Regions from separate parts of the Homo sapiens genome. Here all the other regions are linked to region 6. The links are contacts of gene promoters, found by promoter capture Hi-C in blood cells and fetal thymus (Javierre and others, 2016). All regions are on one chromosome and are shown on one strand. Each heading gives the region's core, a stretch centred on a gene start or on the middle of the fragment in contact. The rest is flanking DNA. Distances are from core to core; before and after follow the strand shown.

Region 1 (2,700 bases), core at 32-2,531, 1.7 Mb after region 6:
ATGGGTTCTCTTGTGTGGAATGTGAGGATGTGGCTAGATGCACTCATGTTTTGTTTGTCACTTTCTATCTGACCACTGGAGCCTTCCTGATTTGTTCTGGGGAGACAGCCTTGGTTGGTGGGCTTGGGACCCTACACTGAGCTCAGGAGTGCTATCTAATGGGGTGAGATTCTTTTTCATAACTGATTGAGCCCTGAAGAAGCTGCTTTGCTTCTCCATGTGGGAAAATGGTCATTATGAGTTCCTTCCTGCACCCTCCCCACTCTACCCTGTCTTTTAGTAAGGATGGTTTTTCTTGTGCAAACCACAAAGAAACCATTCTCTCTGGGTCTGCATGTGTGGTTTTCTGACTTCCTCTCCTGATTGTTGCTTCTTTGTCAAAGGGGATGCCAATGTCCAGATTGCTAGTATCTCAGAGGAACTGGCCAAGAAGACGGAAGATGCTGCCCGCCAGCAAGAGGAGATCACACACCTGCTATCGCAAATAGTTGATTTGCAGAAAAAGGCAAAAGCTGTAAGGCTTCTCTGTTTATCTGGCTGATACAACAATGGCCATGCTGAGACGGGGAAGGGACATTTACTCCAGAAGACAGTGCTCTTTAGTTTCATATCTTAGCAGTTCGTGTTGCCGCTTTGCAGAAAAAGCTTAGTGGACTCAGTAGTATAAAACTGATTACCTGAATTGGTGACGAGTCTTATTTGTGACCTCTTATCTCCTAAAATTATATTGAATTCATTAAAAAGATGTTGTAAATATGGACTTTTGCAGTTTAACTTATGGATCATCTAGTCTAGTATTTGTTTTTACACAGTGCACTAGATATGTGCTGCAGTAGAGCAGTATCCTCTTCAGATTTAAGAAGAGGCAGCAAAATGGACTTTGCTATTAGTGTGGGGTAAAATGCTTCCAGAGAGCTTTGGAAGATGGGGGTGGGGCGGTGGGCTATAGAGAATGAATGTGGATATAGGAAAGACTTTACCTTCAAAATAATATAAAAAGCAGAATTTGAGTATAAGATGAGCATGTCCTTGTAGAAAGTGATGAGTTCATTACAGATTAGGTTAATAAGAGGGAAAAAGTTGGACTTTTACCAAGTATCTTAGGAAGTGATCTATCTTTGCCATGCTTTAGTGCGCAGTGGAAAATGAAGAACTTGTCCAGCATCTGGGGGCTGCTAAGGATGCCCAGCGGCAGCTCACAGCCGAGGTGAGCACCTCTCCCTCATTCCTTCAGTGCCTCTGATTGCAGCCAAGGTGGATTAGCCTTCCCGGACAGCTTTAGTCACGTCCATCGCAACTACTGTTTTTATTTTGAATTTCATTTCATTTTTATTCGTGGGAGAGTAAACCCAGTTGCACCTTGGTTCTGTGCCCACTGACACTGTTACTGGTTATGGGCACCTGTGTGGCAGGGCTCTACACCAGCTGAGCCTGGCACGTGCAGGTGTCCAAAAAATGTTCAAAGAAATGAAACAATACAACACAGAGCACTCTGGGAGAGGAATCTCACAGGTGTGGCTTGAAACATGGGTGTGACGATTTTCTTTTTCTTTCTCTCTTTTTCTCTTTTTGAGATGGGGTCTCATTCTGTCACCCAGGCTGGAGTACAGTGGCATGAGCATGGCTCACCGCAGCCTCGACCTCTCCAGGCTCAGGTGATCCTCCTGAGTATCTGGGACTACAGGTGTGGGCTACCACACCCACCTAATTTTTGCTTTTTTTTTTTTGAAAGATGAGGTTTTCCCATGTCGCCCAGGCTGGTCTCAGCTTCTGTGCCCAAGCAAACTGCCTGCCTTGCCCTCCCAAAGTGCTGAGATTACAGCTGTAAGCCATCATTCCTAGCCTGATTTTTCTTTTGCATGAAGTTGGTTTTGTTTCATTTGCCCATTGTTGGTATTTTAGAAGATTTCTGAGTCTGTAAGCTTGCCTCAAGTCAAAGAAAAAGCAAGCCTTTGAAAATTCTGTTATTTGGCCACAGGCGCACAGGGCAGCTGGTTCCACACGTGCTGGGGACTCTTAGATTGCTGTGTCTTTCTGGCCTTCGGATGGGCAGATGTGTGTACACCTGGGTGCTCAGGAGATCCTGACCCTCTGTGTCTTTCCTGCCTGCAGCTGCGTGAGCTGGAGGACAAGTACGCAGAGTGCATGGAGATGCTGCATGAGGCGCAGGAGGAGCTGAAGAACCTCCGGAACAAAACCATGCCCAATACCACGTCTCGGCGCTACCACTCACTGGGCCTGTTTCCCATGGTGAGCTGTGCTTTCTTCCCAGCCAGAGGACAGGAGGGGTTCTGGTGACAGGAGCACAGTGTCTGACATTCTGGCCACTGGAGTTGGGTGTTCACAGTTCGCTTCTCGTTGTACAGTTCAGATCTGAGTCTGAATCAAGGACACTTGAATCTGACTGGTGGTTTCTTAACTACATAAGACAAATTGGTTATTTTCTGTTCCTCTAAATCTGTGGTCTTTTCTACTCCTGCCATTAAAAGATAAATTTAGTAGGAACTTGCTTTAGTGGGAACCTGAGGTATTTGGAAGATCTGACTCATACAGGTTGAGCATCTCTAATCCAGAATGCTTCACAATCCAAAACTTCCTGAGCACTGACATGATGCATTGTAGACATTTAATAGACATTACGTTTAGACGGATAGTTGGACAGATAGACAGATGGCCTAAAGAGCAAACTCAAGAACTCCT
Region 2 (2,700 bases), core at 153-2,652, 1.7 Mb after region 6:
TTTCTTTTCCCTGCCTGGCATCTCTCAGCCTCTGCTGCCAGCATCCTTGGAAGACATTTCCTCCATCTCTGCATCATTTTTCAGAGCCGGCCAGTTTCTATGGCAACGGTTAGATTGAAAGATGAGCGGCGAGCAGGAGACGAGGCTTGAGTGAGACAGCCAGTGGTGGTGTGTGTCTCTGACGTCACCCTCTAGGCGTCTGGATAGGACGATCCTGGCTACTCCCATTCAGGGCTGCTGTCCAGTGCTGCTTTATTGGCAGTGCTGCCAGGGTCTCCGTTAGCTCTCTGCAAATTGCCTTCCTTTCTGCTCCTCCTACTCCCTCCTTCCCCCATAGAATTTTTCTTTTCATTGCCCACTTTACTGTTTTGGCTCCAGACTGTCGTTAAGAATGTACAGCCTAATTCTGGTGTGTTTCGGGATATTCTTCTGTCCAGTATTCTGGAAGGGCGGGGAGGCATGGCAGCGTTTTACTTGACGTTGATGGTGCTGTGAAGTCCATTCTTTCCTCTGCAAGACTACTGACTATGCAGAAATTTATCGAAGCGGATTATTATGAACTAGACTGGTATTATGAAGAATGCTCGGATGGTAATTATGGCCCCTGCAAAACAGAGCCGGGATGTATAGGGGTATTGTCTCCTTCTGGGTGGGGGGTGTCCTGAAACCTTTAGGGGAGACAGGCGGCTGGCGGGTGGGAGGTACCAGAACTAGCACCACTGGCTCTGGCAATTCCAAAGGCATGGTGGAGGAGGTGGCAGGTGGGCAGGGCTCTTTACCGTGAAAGACTCCTGCAGTATGTATGATTGTTTGCTTAGAAGGGGAGATGGTTTTTGGTGTGCTGGGCTTGTAAGTGTTATACTTCTATTGGATTGAATTTTCTCTGGTGTGAGACGTGAGTGTGTTGTTGATGCATGAATGTGTGCAAGTGGAAATGTGTTCACTGCGCTCTTGCTGTTGGAGGGGATAGGAAACTGGGGGCTTGGAATAGTGTGTTCAGGAGGTGGCTTCCTGGACTGTCAGCAGCAGGCCTGGAAGACTCTGCCCTTTTCTGAGCCCAGACCTGGGAACCATCAGAGGCTGGAGAAAAGGCAGAAGCAGCTTACCACTTAGCGGGTGATTCAAATGAAGTTTGCTTGTTGGATCCAACAGAGATGGGGGTGGGGAGGTGATGGGAGGGGCAGGGAAAGAATGTGTCCTTCTGTCACTACCTTGGTTTGTGCAGGGAGGGTGTGGCACATTCCAAGGGAGACTGGGTGGAGGCCAAGTTGTGTGGCTGGACAGGTCTCAGGAGGTTTCAAGCACACAGAAAACAGCACTGAGGTGCGTTCTCAGAGACATCACAGTGGGCGGGGTCTCAGGTTCCTGGGGTGTTGGACATCAAAATTGTGTATTACACAGTTAATCTGTCTTTAATTTTGTCTTGAAAGTGACCCTCATATCACATGCCTTCACAAAAAAGGGGCCCAATTAATATATACACTTTGAGGGTCTGTTCCCCAGTGATGATATGTTCCCAGCCCTATATGAGCCATTAATAGATAAGGTAAGTGCTTTTTAATTGAGTCGGGAGTTTCAGAATGCTCTATTCCTGACTACATTTGATTAACCTGAATGATGTAACAGGCTGGGACCTGGCCTAGTTAGTAAACTGAAAAACTACATAATTATCTCTTATCCACTGATTTTTGCCGCGACTGTGGGTTAAGGCTTTCTCAGGGGATGGTATTTAAATGTGTGGAAAAACTATGCCAGTTCAATCTCACTGGCCCCCAGCTTTAGATGCAGACATTGTCATGTTCGTTCTGTGTACATCTTTAACTATTTTGAGTAACAAGGATTGGAGGCAGTTCCCAGGGTCATGAGGGGAAAAGATGAGTGAATTTTTTCTTTGGAATATATTCATTCTAAAAGCAAGTTCCCATTCTGTTACCTAACTCCAAAAGGAAATTCTAGAGATGCTCCTTTTTGGAAACCATCATTGACCTCCTTCTAGTTTCCTTGGTGATTTGTGACTCATTGAACCCTCTATAACTTTTTAAAGTAAGGGATTGAATACATCCTCACTGTACCATTGGATTAGGGAGCACTGGTTACAGCAGGGTGCTGTCAGAGGCCCCGTGGATTAGTCAGGTGGGGCCATAGCTCTGTGGATGCCATCCTAGAAGTGGAGGAAGAAGGTTTCCTAATACCATGACCCAAATGCCACACCATCCAGTTCCCTTTACACCCTGAAATAAAGCCAGTCGCTTGCCATGGTCAATCTGGAGGGTGAGCGGAGGCCTGCTCTTATCTGGGTATCCATCAGAAGGATTTTCTTACCCAGCACTTCCTCAGTTGAGTCTTTTGGCCCTGAGAGACCCTGATCTGTCTTCCTCTAAGAGCAAAGGAAAATAGAAGAGGAGATGGCTCAACTGTTCAAGGGTAAATATATTGATTTATTTATTTCTGAATTATTGTTATTGTCTGAATGTATGTTGAGCAAAATACTTGTCCTTTATCATCTATCCCATTTTGGATGAAGGGAAGAAGGTTTTTGAGACAGAATTTACTGGGACCACTGGTATTTTCATACTCCCATTTAAAGAGGTAGCAAAGTAGGGAATAAAGGAACAGAAGTCCAGAAATAAACTGGTTTAGGAAACGTACAAAAAGGAGATTTCAATTATGTGCCAATTTTGTGGTTACTTGCTTACACAT
Region 3 (2,700 bases), core at 77-2,576, 1.4 Mb after region 6:
CATCAAAAAGACTAATGACTGCAAAGGACTAGACGATATACATATACATATATACACCTGTAAGTTCTTAACAATATAAAATCAATCTCACTAGACACGGAGATTTCTCAGGTACCAACTCTTTATTCTGAAAACTGACCTATGAAGAGGAACAATCAAGCATTTATCCTGCCTTGCAAAACAAACTCTATTTTAAGGATAACCAAATAGTTGATCAGGGAAAGATCTTCTGTAAGAAAACTTCCAACTACAAATAGAAAGGAAATTACAGAATAAGAAAATTATCATTTTGCAACTCTAAAGGATTACTACATGTAGACAATAATCGATTGATGTTAAAACTGTTAAAAAAAAAAAAAAAAAAAAAGAGTGAGGAGTTCCTGACTCACAGATAAGGGTATGAAGAAAAAAAAAGAGTGATGGGAATATTTATAATAAGGCTGACAACATCTGAGTCTAGTGATCAACTTTAACCCCTCTAATAGAGGCATATAATGTTTAATTGTCTCACTTCCTATGAAGCAGTAGGAGAAATACAGCACCAACTGTGACAAATTCCTATTTCCCCAAGCCATCCCCCCAAAAAAAAGTACTGAATCAAGGGTCCACATCTAAGCAGCCATGCGCAAGAAAGGAAAGGCAGGTGATAAAGGACTATATTAAATAACACCAAAAGGGTGCAGTAAAGCTTCTGGTATTCCAATTTGGGCCAAGACAAGGGACAATTTGTCTGTAACAAATAAATGACACTAAAAAATAAGAGACCAGGAATTAAGAGACTTAAGGGTCACAATATCTAAACGCAATCCTGGCTCAAAGAAAAATTACAAAATGACATGTATGAAACCACCAAGAAAATCTGAACACTAACTGGGTATTAGATGATATTCAGAGACTACTGCTGAATGTATTGGGTGTGATAATGAAATCATGGTTATACATTTTTCTAATCCTTTTCTGCTAGCAAAAGATATTTACTAGTAAAATGATATCATTTTATTTAAAATACTCCAGCAAGAAAGAGAGAGGGAGAGAAAAAGGGAGAGGGGGAATGAAAGCAGGACACAAGATGAAACAAGATTAGCCAGTGTTGATTGCTGGAAGCAAATGATACTACCTCATTACTCTAGCCTCTCTACTTCTATATATGTTGAAATTTTCCATAATTTAAAAAAAAAAAATTTGAGACAGGGTCTTGCTCTGTTGCCCAAGCTGGAGTGCAATAGCATGATAATAGCCCACTACAGCCTCAACCTCCCAGGGTCATGTCTCAGCCTCCTGAGTAGCTGGGACCACAGACGTGCACCACCACACCAAACTCTATTTTTTCTAGAGACAGGGTCTCCTTATGTTGCCCAGGCTGGTCTCAAACTCCTAGGCTCAAGTTATCCTCCCACCTCAGCCTCCCAAAGTACTGGGATTACAGCCGTGAGTCACCACGCCCAGCTGATAATAAAGAAATTTAATGAATGGGTTAACCTAAAATGTCTGTTAATACTCCTTTTGGCCAGGAGTGGTGGCTCATGCCTGTAATCCCAGCACTTTGGGAGGCTGAGGCGGATGGATTATTTGAGGTCAAGAGTTCGTGATCAGCCTGGCCAACATGGTGAAACCCCATCTCTACTAAAAATACAAAATAAATTAGCTGGGCGTGGTAGTGCATGCCTGTAATCCCAGCTACTCGGGAGGCTGAGGCAGGAGAATCGTTTGAACCTGGGTGACAGAGGTTGCAGTGAGCCAAGATCACGCCACTGCAATCCAGCCTGGGCAACAGAGTGAGACTCAGTCACAAAAAAAATTCCTTTCAGTTTTAGAATTTGATGGGTCTATATTAAATTTCATAAAATATATCCACTGCACGCTTCAGACTAAATATATTGGCTTAATATCAGAAATGTTTTTTAAAATTATTACACATAGAAACCACAATGATTACAGAGTGGTAAATGTGTTATCTAGGAATATAAGCTTCAGATGGTTATATTTTTCAGTAAAAAAGATACAGATGTCAATAAATGCTTCTAAATGCATAAAGGAGATCATGACCAGTTATTTTCTGTAGCTGTTGATGACAGAATAAGATGAAAGAGATTTAAATTATATTACAAGGATAGTAAAATAGATTTTTGCTCCATTTTTTCTGTCTCTTTATAACAAATTATACCATCATATTCTTCTGACATTCTTTTAATCATTCATTAAACTCTCCAGCATTAACTGCCTAAAATACACATTACTTTGCTGGCTCGGCACTGTGGGGTACAAAGGTGAGTAACAAAATGAGGTTCTATGCCATTAAAATGCTTATAGGGGCCAGGTGCAGTGTCTCATGCCTGTAATCCCAATACTTTGGGGAAGCCAAGACAAATGGATCACTTGAGGCCAGGAGTTCAAGACCAGCCTGACCAACATGATGAAACCGTGTCTCTACTAAAAATACAAAACTTAGCAGAGCATGGTGGCATGAACCTGTGGTCCAAGCTACTCGTGAAGCTGAGGCTGAGAATCTCTTCAACCCGGGAGGCAGAGGTTACAACGAGCCAAGATCACACCACTGCACTACAGCCTGGGCAACAGAGCGAGACTCTATCGCAAAAAAATAAATAAGTAAGTAAAATAAAATAAGATGCTTATAGGGTCTGCAACCACAATTTTTCCTGTTCACTGAGAGTAAACCTAATAGAGAATTTAGGATTCATC
Region 4 (2,700 bases), core at 50-2,549, 1.5 Mb after region 6:
TGATCCGCCCACCTCAGCCTCCAAAAGTACTGGGATTACAGACATGAGCCACCGCGCCTGGCCCACTCCCAGCTAATTTTTGTATCTTTTGCAGGGACACATTTTCACCATGTTGCCCAGGCTGGTCTCAAACTCCTGAGCTCAAGCAATTCGCCTGCCTCGGTCTCTCCAAGTGCTGGGATTACAGGTGTGAGCCACAATGTCCAGGGGGAATTTCTATACATTAACAAATGTACAATCGAAAAAGGAAATCAAGAAAACAACTTCATTTATAATAGCAGCAAAAAGAATAAAACACATAGGAATTAACCAAACAGGTGGAAAGACTTACACAACAAAAACTACAAAAAACTTCTGAAAGAAATTTTTAAAAGACATAAATAGGCTGGGCACGGTGGCTCACACCTGTAATCCCAGCACTTTGGGAGGCCGAAGCGGGCAGATCACGAGGTCAGGAGATGGAGACCATCCTGGCTAACACGGTGAAACCTCATCTCTACTAAAAATACAAAAAATTAGCTGGGCATGGTGGCGGGCGCCTGTAGTCCCAGCTACTCAAGAGGCTGAGGCAGGAGAATGGCGTGAACCCCGGGAGGCGGAGCTTACAGTAAGCCGAGATTGTGTCACTGCACTCCAGCCTGGAGGACAGAGCGAGGCTTCGTCTCAAAAAAAAAAAAAAAAAAAAAAAAGACACAAATAAGTGGGAAAATATCACGTGTTTATGAATTAGAAGGCAATTTTCAGATATTAATAATTAACATTCAAATACTACCCAAAATCAATCTATCCAAAGCAATGTATGCATTCAATGCAATTCTTATCAAAATCCCAACAACTATTTTTGTGGGACTAGAAAAATCTATCCGAAAATTCATATAGAATCTCAAGGTATGTCAAACGGCCAAAACAATCTTAAAAGAAAAAAAAAAAAAAGCTGGAAAACACACACTTCCTGATTCCAAAGCTTACTACAAAGCTACAATAATAAAAACAGTATAGTACTGGCATAAAGATGGAAATATAGACCAACAGTATAGAATAAGGAGCCCAGAAATAAACCCTCACACATATGGTCAAATGACTTCCAATAAGTATTCCAAAACTATTCAATGAGGAAAGGGCAGTCTTTTCAACAAATGGTGCTGAGAAAACTGGATATCCACATGTAAAAGAGAGAAGTTGGACCTTTACTGTTGTGGTCTGAATGTGTCCCTCTAAAATTCACATTGAAACCTAATGTCCACTGTGGTGGTATTAGGAGGTGGAACCTTTAGGAGGCGATTAGGTCATCAGGGCTCTGCCCTCATAAATAAAATTAGTGTCCTTAGAATACAGCCATAAGGGGGCCTGTTTTCCTCTTCTGCCATGTGGGAACACATAAAAGGCACCATCTTTGAGAAACAGAGCAAGCCCTTACAAGACACCAAAACTGCTGGCACCTTAATCCTGGACTTCCCAGCCCCAAGAACTGTGACCAATAAATTTCTGTTATTTATAAGCTATCCAGTCTAAGGTATTTTGTCTTAGCAGCCCAAACAGAGACATTTACGGAACACCACATAGAAAATTTAACTCAAAATGAGTCAAATATCACTGAGGTAAAAATACATAACTATCAGAAGAACAAATAGGACAAAAGCTTCATGACACTGGGCTTGGCAATGATTTTTGGATATTTGCGTAAGACACCAAAGACACAGATAACAAAAAAAAAGACAAATGTGACTCTGCAAAAATTTTAAACTTTAGTACATCAAAAGGCACTATCAACAAAGTGAAAAGGCAACCTATAGAATATGAAAATATATTTGCATATCATATATCTGATAACAGATTAATATCTAGAATATATAGAGAAGTCGTAAAACTCAGCAAGAAAACAACCAACCAGATTAGAGAATGGGCAGAGGACTTACAGAAATGGACAAAAAGAATAGACATTTCTCCAAAGGAGATATACAAATTGTCTATAAGCATATGAAAAGATGCTGCTCAGCATCACTAGTCATTAGGGAAATGCAAATCAAAACAACAATGAGATACCACCTCACACCCATTAGGATGGTTACTGTCAAAAAAAAAGACAAAAAGTACTGATAAGGATGCAGAGAAACCGAACCCTTGTGCACTGATGGTCTGGAATGAGAAGATGGCAGAGCTGCTGAGGAAAACAGTATGGCAAGTCTTAAAATAATTAAAAATAGAATTACCATAGGACCAGCAATTCCACTTCTGAGTATATACACAAAATAAAGCAAGATCTCAAAGAGATATTTGTATCCACATATTCATAGCACCATTGTTCACAATAGTTAAAACACGGAAGCAACTTGTGTCCACTGTTACATAAATAAGCAAAATGCGCTTTATATATGTACAATGAAATATGATTCAGTCTTAAAAAGGAGGAAATTCTAACACATGCTACAACGTGGATAAACCTTGAGGACATTACACTGGGTGAAATAAGCCAGACAAAAAATGCTGTATGATACCATTTATATAGAGTAGTCAAAACCACAGAGACAAAAAGTAGAATGATAGTTGCCAAAAGCTGGAGAAGGAGAAATGAAGAATTACAGTTTAATGGGTACAGAGCTTCAGTTTTACAAGATGAAAACAGTTATGGGGATAGATGGAGGTGATAGCTGCACAGCAATATGAATGTACTTATTATCCCTAAACTGTACAATTAAAAAT
Region 5 (2,700 bases), core at 107-2,606, 1.5 Mb after region 6:
CCGGAGCGCAGCCTTAGCGTCCCCGAGAGTCTCGAACGCCCCGACGACCCCCGCGTCTCGGAACCCCGGACTCCGAGCCCAGGAGCGCCAGAGCGGCAGGCGGGCAGCAGGAGGCGGCGGCGCCAGAGCGGAGCCCCCGCGAGTGCCCCCGTGCCGCCCGGCCGGCTGCAGCGGAGGGAACCGAAGCCGCCGGGCGGCCGGGGCCGGGCCGAGAACGACGCGGAGGAAGCCCCCACCGAGGCCCCCCGGCACCGCGCCTGCTGCCGGGTTGCGCTCCGTGCACCTCTTGCGGGTAAGCCAGGGGTCCGCTCACCCGCGCCGCCTGCGCCTCGGGCCCAGGGGCTGGGGAAGGACACGGGTGTTCTGGGAGTGTCCGCGTGAGATAGTGGCGGCGTGAGAGGCCGGGCGCCGGGACCCTGCGGGGACAGCCCTCCTAATGCACCGGCCGCACCTGCAGGAGGCCCTCGGAGCCCGGAAAAGTGCCCCTAGGGCATCGTGTCGGCCACGCCGCGTGGCCTGGATTCCGCGCTCCGGCACTCCGAGGTGACAGTGAGGCGACCTTCAAAGAGCCTGGAGCTGAGCGCGGGCAGCACCCCGATTCCCACTCACCCGCAAAACTTGATGAAAATGACATCATCTGAGCGTGTCAGAGAGCAGAGAGCCTTTAGAGCCCTCCTTTGCATCCTTGAGAGTTAACAAGTTTACTTTGTCACTTTCTTGACCTGATTTTTAAAGTTCTTTTCTAGTCTCCAAGGTCAAGCTCTTGCAGGTAAAAACAAATGTAATGAACTGTATCGTTTCTTCTTTTGTAAAGTTGTGTTTCAGGAAAGATGTTAAAAGTCGGCCTGCTCTTGAGGCTGGTGCTGGGTGCCCCTTCCGCTTTAAGCTTGCCTGTTTTAGAACCCGTGGCTGCACTTGTTCAGACACTGAAATTAGCGTCCGCTTTGAGAGCCTTCAGAGTATTCGTCGTTGGACCGCTGATTTTTTTTTTTTTCTGATATGCTTCACTGGAACTTTATTTGCTTCAAAAGTGTAAACGTTGTCAATACTGTCTGTGAGTGTGTATTCGGGACTGGTAACCTTTTCTGGAGGGTCTTTTGTTTATCTGGAAGGAGAGTGGAGGTTACCATAGGGAAACGGTCTAGTTCCAGGGTCCTTTCCAATTTCCAACTACAAGAGCAGCGAAGAGGAAGGTGCTCAGACTAAGCTCTGATTAGCCCTGGAGCCAGTCTGCACTGGGGAGGGTCTCCCCAGATTGAGTGAAGGGACAACAGGCTGGGAGCTTGACTGGTAGGTTTGGAGAGTTGGACCTGGAGTGACAGATGGCGCCTTCCCCTCTGTCTCTCGGTTTGGAATGGTCATACTCGGTTGCTCTTTGATCTTGGACCTCAGCTTTGTCACAGAGGTTCCCAGCCCAGTGTAGCCTAAGCCAGCTGGAAAGCTGAGCCCGGCTCTGGGGGATGCTGAATCGGTTTAAAGCCCTTGTCTCAGGGCTGCGAGTTTGGCAACAGTTGGGTTTCAGCTTGGCCCCAGCACCAGCCGTTTCCTGTTTGATGCCCCAGGGACCAGTTTCCCATCCCCAGCGCTCGCTTGAGGGTGTCTCCACTCTGGCTGTGTTGCTTCTCCTTCTCTGTGGTCTTGGAGTGGGAAACCTGGACTGAAATTCCAACTCCTCTCTATTGGCTGTGTGACCTTACTTAACCTCTCTGTCCTGCTCTCCCCTCTCTGGGAGACAATGTTTTAAATGGAGGTGTCTGTAAAAGTTTGACTGAATGACATGGGAGCGTTTTCAGGTCTCCTTCCAACATGATTGGGTTTGTAATTTGGTAAGCTTTTTGAGCCCCAACAGGGATAATAAAGCATATAATAGTAATTATTGTTTTATAGGTTTATTATGAGGGTCAAATCAGGTAATATAAAAGAGCTTTGGGCCGGGCATGGTGACTTGTGCGTGTATTCCCAGCATTTTGGGAGGCTGAGGCAGGTGGATCACTTAAGGTCAGGAGTTCGAGACCAGCCTGGCCAACATGGTGAAACCCCGTCTCTACTAAAAATACAAAAATTAGCTGGGCATGATGATGGGCACCTGTAATCCCAGCTACTAAGGAGGGTGAGTCAGGAGAATAGCTTGAATCCGGGAGGCAGAGGTTTCATTGAGCCAAGATCCCGCCACTGCACTTCAGCCAGGGCGACAGAGCAAGACCCCATCTCAAAAACAAAAACAAAAACAAAAAACATAAAAATAAAAGGGCTTTCAAAAATAATAGAGCACTATTCACATTGAATGGAGTTCTTAAACTTTCACTTTCCAAACTAACAACACCTTAAGGTTTGCCATCTTAAGTGGACTTTGTTCCTGTCATTGCATTCTGGTTTTTTGTTTTTTTTTTTCTTTTTGAGTCAGAGTGTCGCTCTGTCATCGAGGCTAGAGTGCAGTGGTGCGATCTTGGCTCACTGCGGCCTCCACCTCACAGGTTCAAGTGATTCTTTGGCCTCAGCCTCCCGAGTAGCTGGGATTGCAGGCACCTGCCACCACGCCCAGCTAATTTTTGTATTTTTAGTAGAGACGGGGTTTCACCACTTTGGCCAGGCTGGTCTCAAACTCTTGACCTCGAGTGATCTGCTGGCCATGACCTCCCAAAGTGCTGGGATTATAGGCGCAAGCCACCACTCCCAGTCCCTGTCGTTGCATTCTGAGTC
Region 6 (2,700 bases), core at 122-2,621:
TTCTTACCAGACTTCAAAAGGTGCCAAACTCTTAGTTAATTCTCTACTGGATCAAGGAAAACACTTTGAAAGTGAAGGGGATTCTTTACAGGATGTAGATTTTCTTCACAAAAGACAGCTTTACAGGGTCATTTCAAAATATGTCAAAGAAATACATTTTAGGGTAAAATACTTCAGTTTATTTCAGGGCCTGTTATCTGTCACATGAGACTATACTAGAGTCAGGTTAGAATTTGATGTCTTATTGCTATAAAGAGTTTGTTTTGGGCTGGGCGTGGTGGCTCACGCCTGTAATCCCAGCACTTTGGGAGGCCGAGGCGGGCGATCACGAGGTCTAGTTCAAGACCAGCCTGGTCAACATGGTGAAATCCCGTCTCTACTAAGAATACAAAAATTAGCCGGGCGTGTTGGCACGTTCCTGTAATCCCAGCTACTCAGGAGGCTGAGGCAGGAGAATTGCTTGAACCCGGGAGGCGGAGGTTGCAGTGAGCCGAGATCGGGAAACTGTACTCCAGCCTGGGCTACAGAGTAAGACTCCATCTCGGAAAAAAAAAAAAAAAGTTTTAGTCAGTCTCAAGATCTCTGTTTTAATGTTAATGCTGGTCCGTAGTGCCTGAATTCCAAGGGCATAACGAGGCAAGTCCGATCCCCTGCTTCCCATCATGGCCTGAACTAGATTGCCAGGTTTTCTTTGGAATGTTTTGGCTGAGAGAAGTGGTCCATTCAGTTGGTTGGGGGACTTAGAATTTTATTTTTGGTTTACAAAACTGTTGCATGAATTGACTCAGTTAATTCACTGAATTTATAAATTACAAACTTTTACCATTCTCAACTGATAAATTGAGGCAACGATTTAAGTATAACTTGAGCAAGTCCATATAGAGTGGAGCCAGGAACGCAGACAATGAGACACCATACCCCATGGTCTTAGGTCACAGTCATTCAGTGGGAGACAGGGGCTATAAATTCATTAGAAGGTTAAGTTAGGAATTAAGTAATTAGGTAAGGAATTAGGAATTCAGTTAATTAAGTTACAAATTGTTAAATATGGAGGAATTTATCATGTAGTTGGGGTACTAAGACATAAGAGAAAATAATAAAGAAAAACAGGAGCGGCCGGGCGCGGTGGCTCACGCCTGTATTCCCAGCACTTTGGGAGGCCGAGGCGGGCGGACAGCTTGAGCTCAGGAGTTCGAGAACAGCCTGCGCAACATAGCGAGACCCCCGTTTCAAAAAACACACGAAAAAATTAAAATTAAAAAACAAACAAACCAGGCGCAGAGCGGTTGTGGAGAAGGGAAGCGAAGGGTTGGAGTTTCGTTTCGTGGGAACCATAGAGAAGGGCCAGCCTCCCGGCTTCCTAGAGAGGCTGTAGGGACCGACGGCCGGCCAGCTAATGCTTCCGTCTTGGCCACCTTGCGAGCGCTCGGGTTGAGTTTCCCGGGCTTCCCTGACTCGGCTACCTGTTCTGGAGGTCAGGCTTTGGGCCCTTGCAGAGGTCGCCGAGGGGCCCGCGCCGCCGCCAGAGCCTGGGCCCAGTCCCCAGTCTTCAGAGACGCCCTCGACCTTCCTGCTCCGAGGAGCTGGCCTGATGTCCTCGGGTCGCGGTATTCATGGGGAGGATGGGAGCCGTGACTATAGGGTCTCCTGCTTCCCAGGGTGGAGCGTTCAGATCCCGGTTAGGTCTTCGGTCAGCATCACCCGCTGGGACATTAAGCGTCTTACCCTTGTCACCCGGGGCTGGGTCACCACTTATATTTTGTCCTGCAGCCTGTGGTTTGTTTAGGGGTCCCCGTTATATCCTACTTTCTCTCCAGAGACTTGTTTTGGGTTTTTGCCATGAACACTAGAAGCATTCAATACAAACTGTTTAGTAATGCATTCATAGTGGGGCCAAGAATTTTTTTTAAAAAACAGCCACGAATCCACTGCAGTTCTTGACTCTTACTTTACAGATATTCTTTCTAGAGTTTCCAGTGTCACCAAGCAGATCTATAGGAGAATATGCAGAGGGAGCATTTGCAACATCCCATGAATCAGTGGAGAGGGTGAATGACAGCAGCTAGTGTGCCAAGAATATCTGCAATGCTAGTGGCAGGAGACAGAGGGGAAGAGGCGGCAAGTGTAGGAGACGAGACAGATCAGTCTCATTGTGGTTCTCTCTTAGCTCCGCAGGTTCTTACTTTTTCAAACCTAGAGGGCAGTGCATGAAGCCAGGGGTCATCAGCCATGCTCCAGACAGTGTGGTTCCAGGTGAGCAGAGCTTTCTTTCAGCTTTCCATACTCAGAACAGATATGGAAGGTCAGTACAGCCCCAGTAGCCTGACTTGGCCAGTCTCATGCTTAGTTTTACATCCTTCAATAAAGTATGTAAAAACAGTATGCGAGGGGAGTTGACGAACGAGAGTAGGTGAATTTGGGAGAGTCAGGTAGGTTGGAAAAGAAGGAATGAATTATCCTAGAAAGTGGGAATCTGCATTCATGAGAACTGAAAGTGTGGCCTGGAGATGAGCAGCTTTTGCATTACAGAGGGCTCTTGTTAGGCAAAATGTCAGGCCCCCTCCCCAGATCTCCTAAATCAGAATCTACATTTTTACAAGATCTGGAAAATTAAAGGGCAGATTAAAATTTGAGGAGTGCTAGTCTGCGTTCACAGTACACAAAGAAAAGCCATTTCTGAGGTTAAATAGACACTTCCAA

What was found. The method cuts DNA at HindIII sites, captures the fragments that hold promoters and counts their contacts. A CHiCAGO score of 5 or more calls a contact.
Region 1: a fragment that was not itself captured here is called in contact with the fragment with the promoter of ZNF619 in region 6 in 1 of 17 cell types (total CD8 T cells); the score reaches 5.3 in total CD8 T cells.
Region 2: a fragment that was not itself captured here is called in contact with the fragment with the promoter of ZNF619 in region 6 in 1 of 17 cell types (total B cells); the score reaches 6.0 in total B cells.
Region 3: a contact is called between a fragment that was not itself captured here and the fragment with the promoter of ZNF619 in region 6, in 4 of 17 cell types (M2 macrophages, M0 macrophages, total B cells and 1 more). The highest score is 8.6, in M2 macrophages.
Region 4: a fragment that was not itself captured here is called in contact with the fragment with the promoter of ZNF619 in region 6 in 1 of 17 cell types (activated CD4 T cells); the score reaches 6.8 in activated CD4 T cells.
Region 5: a contact is called between a fragment that was not itself captured here and the fragment with the promoter of ZNF619 in region 6, in 1 of 17 cell types (monocytes). The highest score is 5.5, in monocytes.

The regions. Positions count from the first base shown.
Region 1 is chr3:42,192,692-42,195,391 of GRCh38, forward strand. It overlaps TRAK1 (trafficking kinesin protein 1), which reads left to right. Exons shown (of 16, transcript NM_001042646.3): 8 at 384-514; 9 at 1,133-1,207; 10 at 2,113-2,250. Among named protein-coding and RNA genes, the nearest start is that of CCK, 72 kb to the right of the region's middle. RefSeq lists an enhancer at 2,172-2,331. The HindIII fragment of the contact is 1,277 bases long and covers 644-1,920 here.
Region 2 is chr3:42,149,009-42,151,708 of GRCh38, forward strand. All of the region lies in intron 2 of TRAK1 (trafficking kinesin protein 1), which reads left to right. Among named protein-coding and RNA genes, the nearest start is that of TRAK1, 59 kb to the left of the region's middle. RefSeq lists an enhancer at 2,612-2,700. The HindIII fragment of the contact is 2,941 bases long and covers 1-2,700 here.
Region 3 is chr3:41,878,330-41,881,029 of GRCh38, forward strand. The region is part of intron 17 of ULK4 (unc-51 like kinase 4); the gene reads right to left. Among named protein-coding and RNA genes, the nearest start is that of ULK4, 82 kb to the right of the region's middle. The HindIII fragment of the contact is 1,280 bases long and covers 687-1,966 here.
Region 4 is chr3:41,950,480-41,953,179 of GRCh38, forward strand. The region is part of intron 2 of ULK4 (unc-51 like kinase 4); the gene reads right to left. Among named protein-coding and RNA genes, the nearest start is that of ULK4, 10 kb to the right of the region's middle. The HindIII fragment of the contact is 675 bases long and covers 963-1,637 here.
Region 5 is chr3:42,013,826-42,016,525 of GRCh38, forward strand. It overlaps a transcript of TRAK1 not described here. Among named protein-coding and RNA genes, the nearest start is that of ULK4, 53 kb to the left of the region's middle. RefSeq lists silencers at 1-156, 217-286 and enhancers at 477-616, 1,010-1,511. The HindIII fragment of the contact is 945 bases long and covers 885-1,829 here.
Region 6 is chr3:40,475,751-40,478,450 of GRCh38, forward strand. It overlaps ZNF619 (zinc finger protein 619), which reads left to right and starts at 1,372. Exons shown (of 5, transcript NM_001145093.4): 1 at 1,372-1,607; 2 at 2,168-2,253. The coding sequence starts at 2,230. RefSeq lists an enhancer at 1,546-1,685. The HindIII fragment of the contact is 7,181 bases long and covers 1-2,700 here.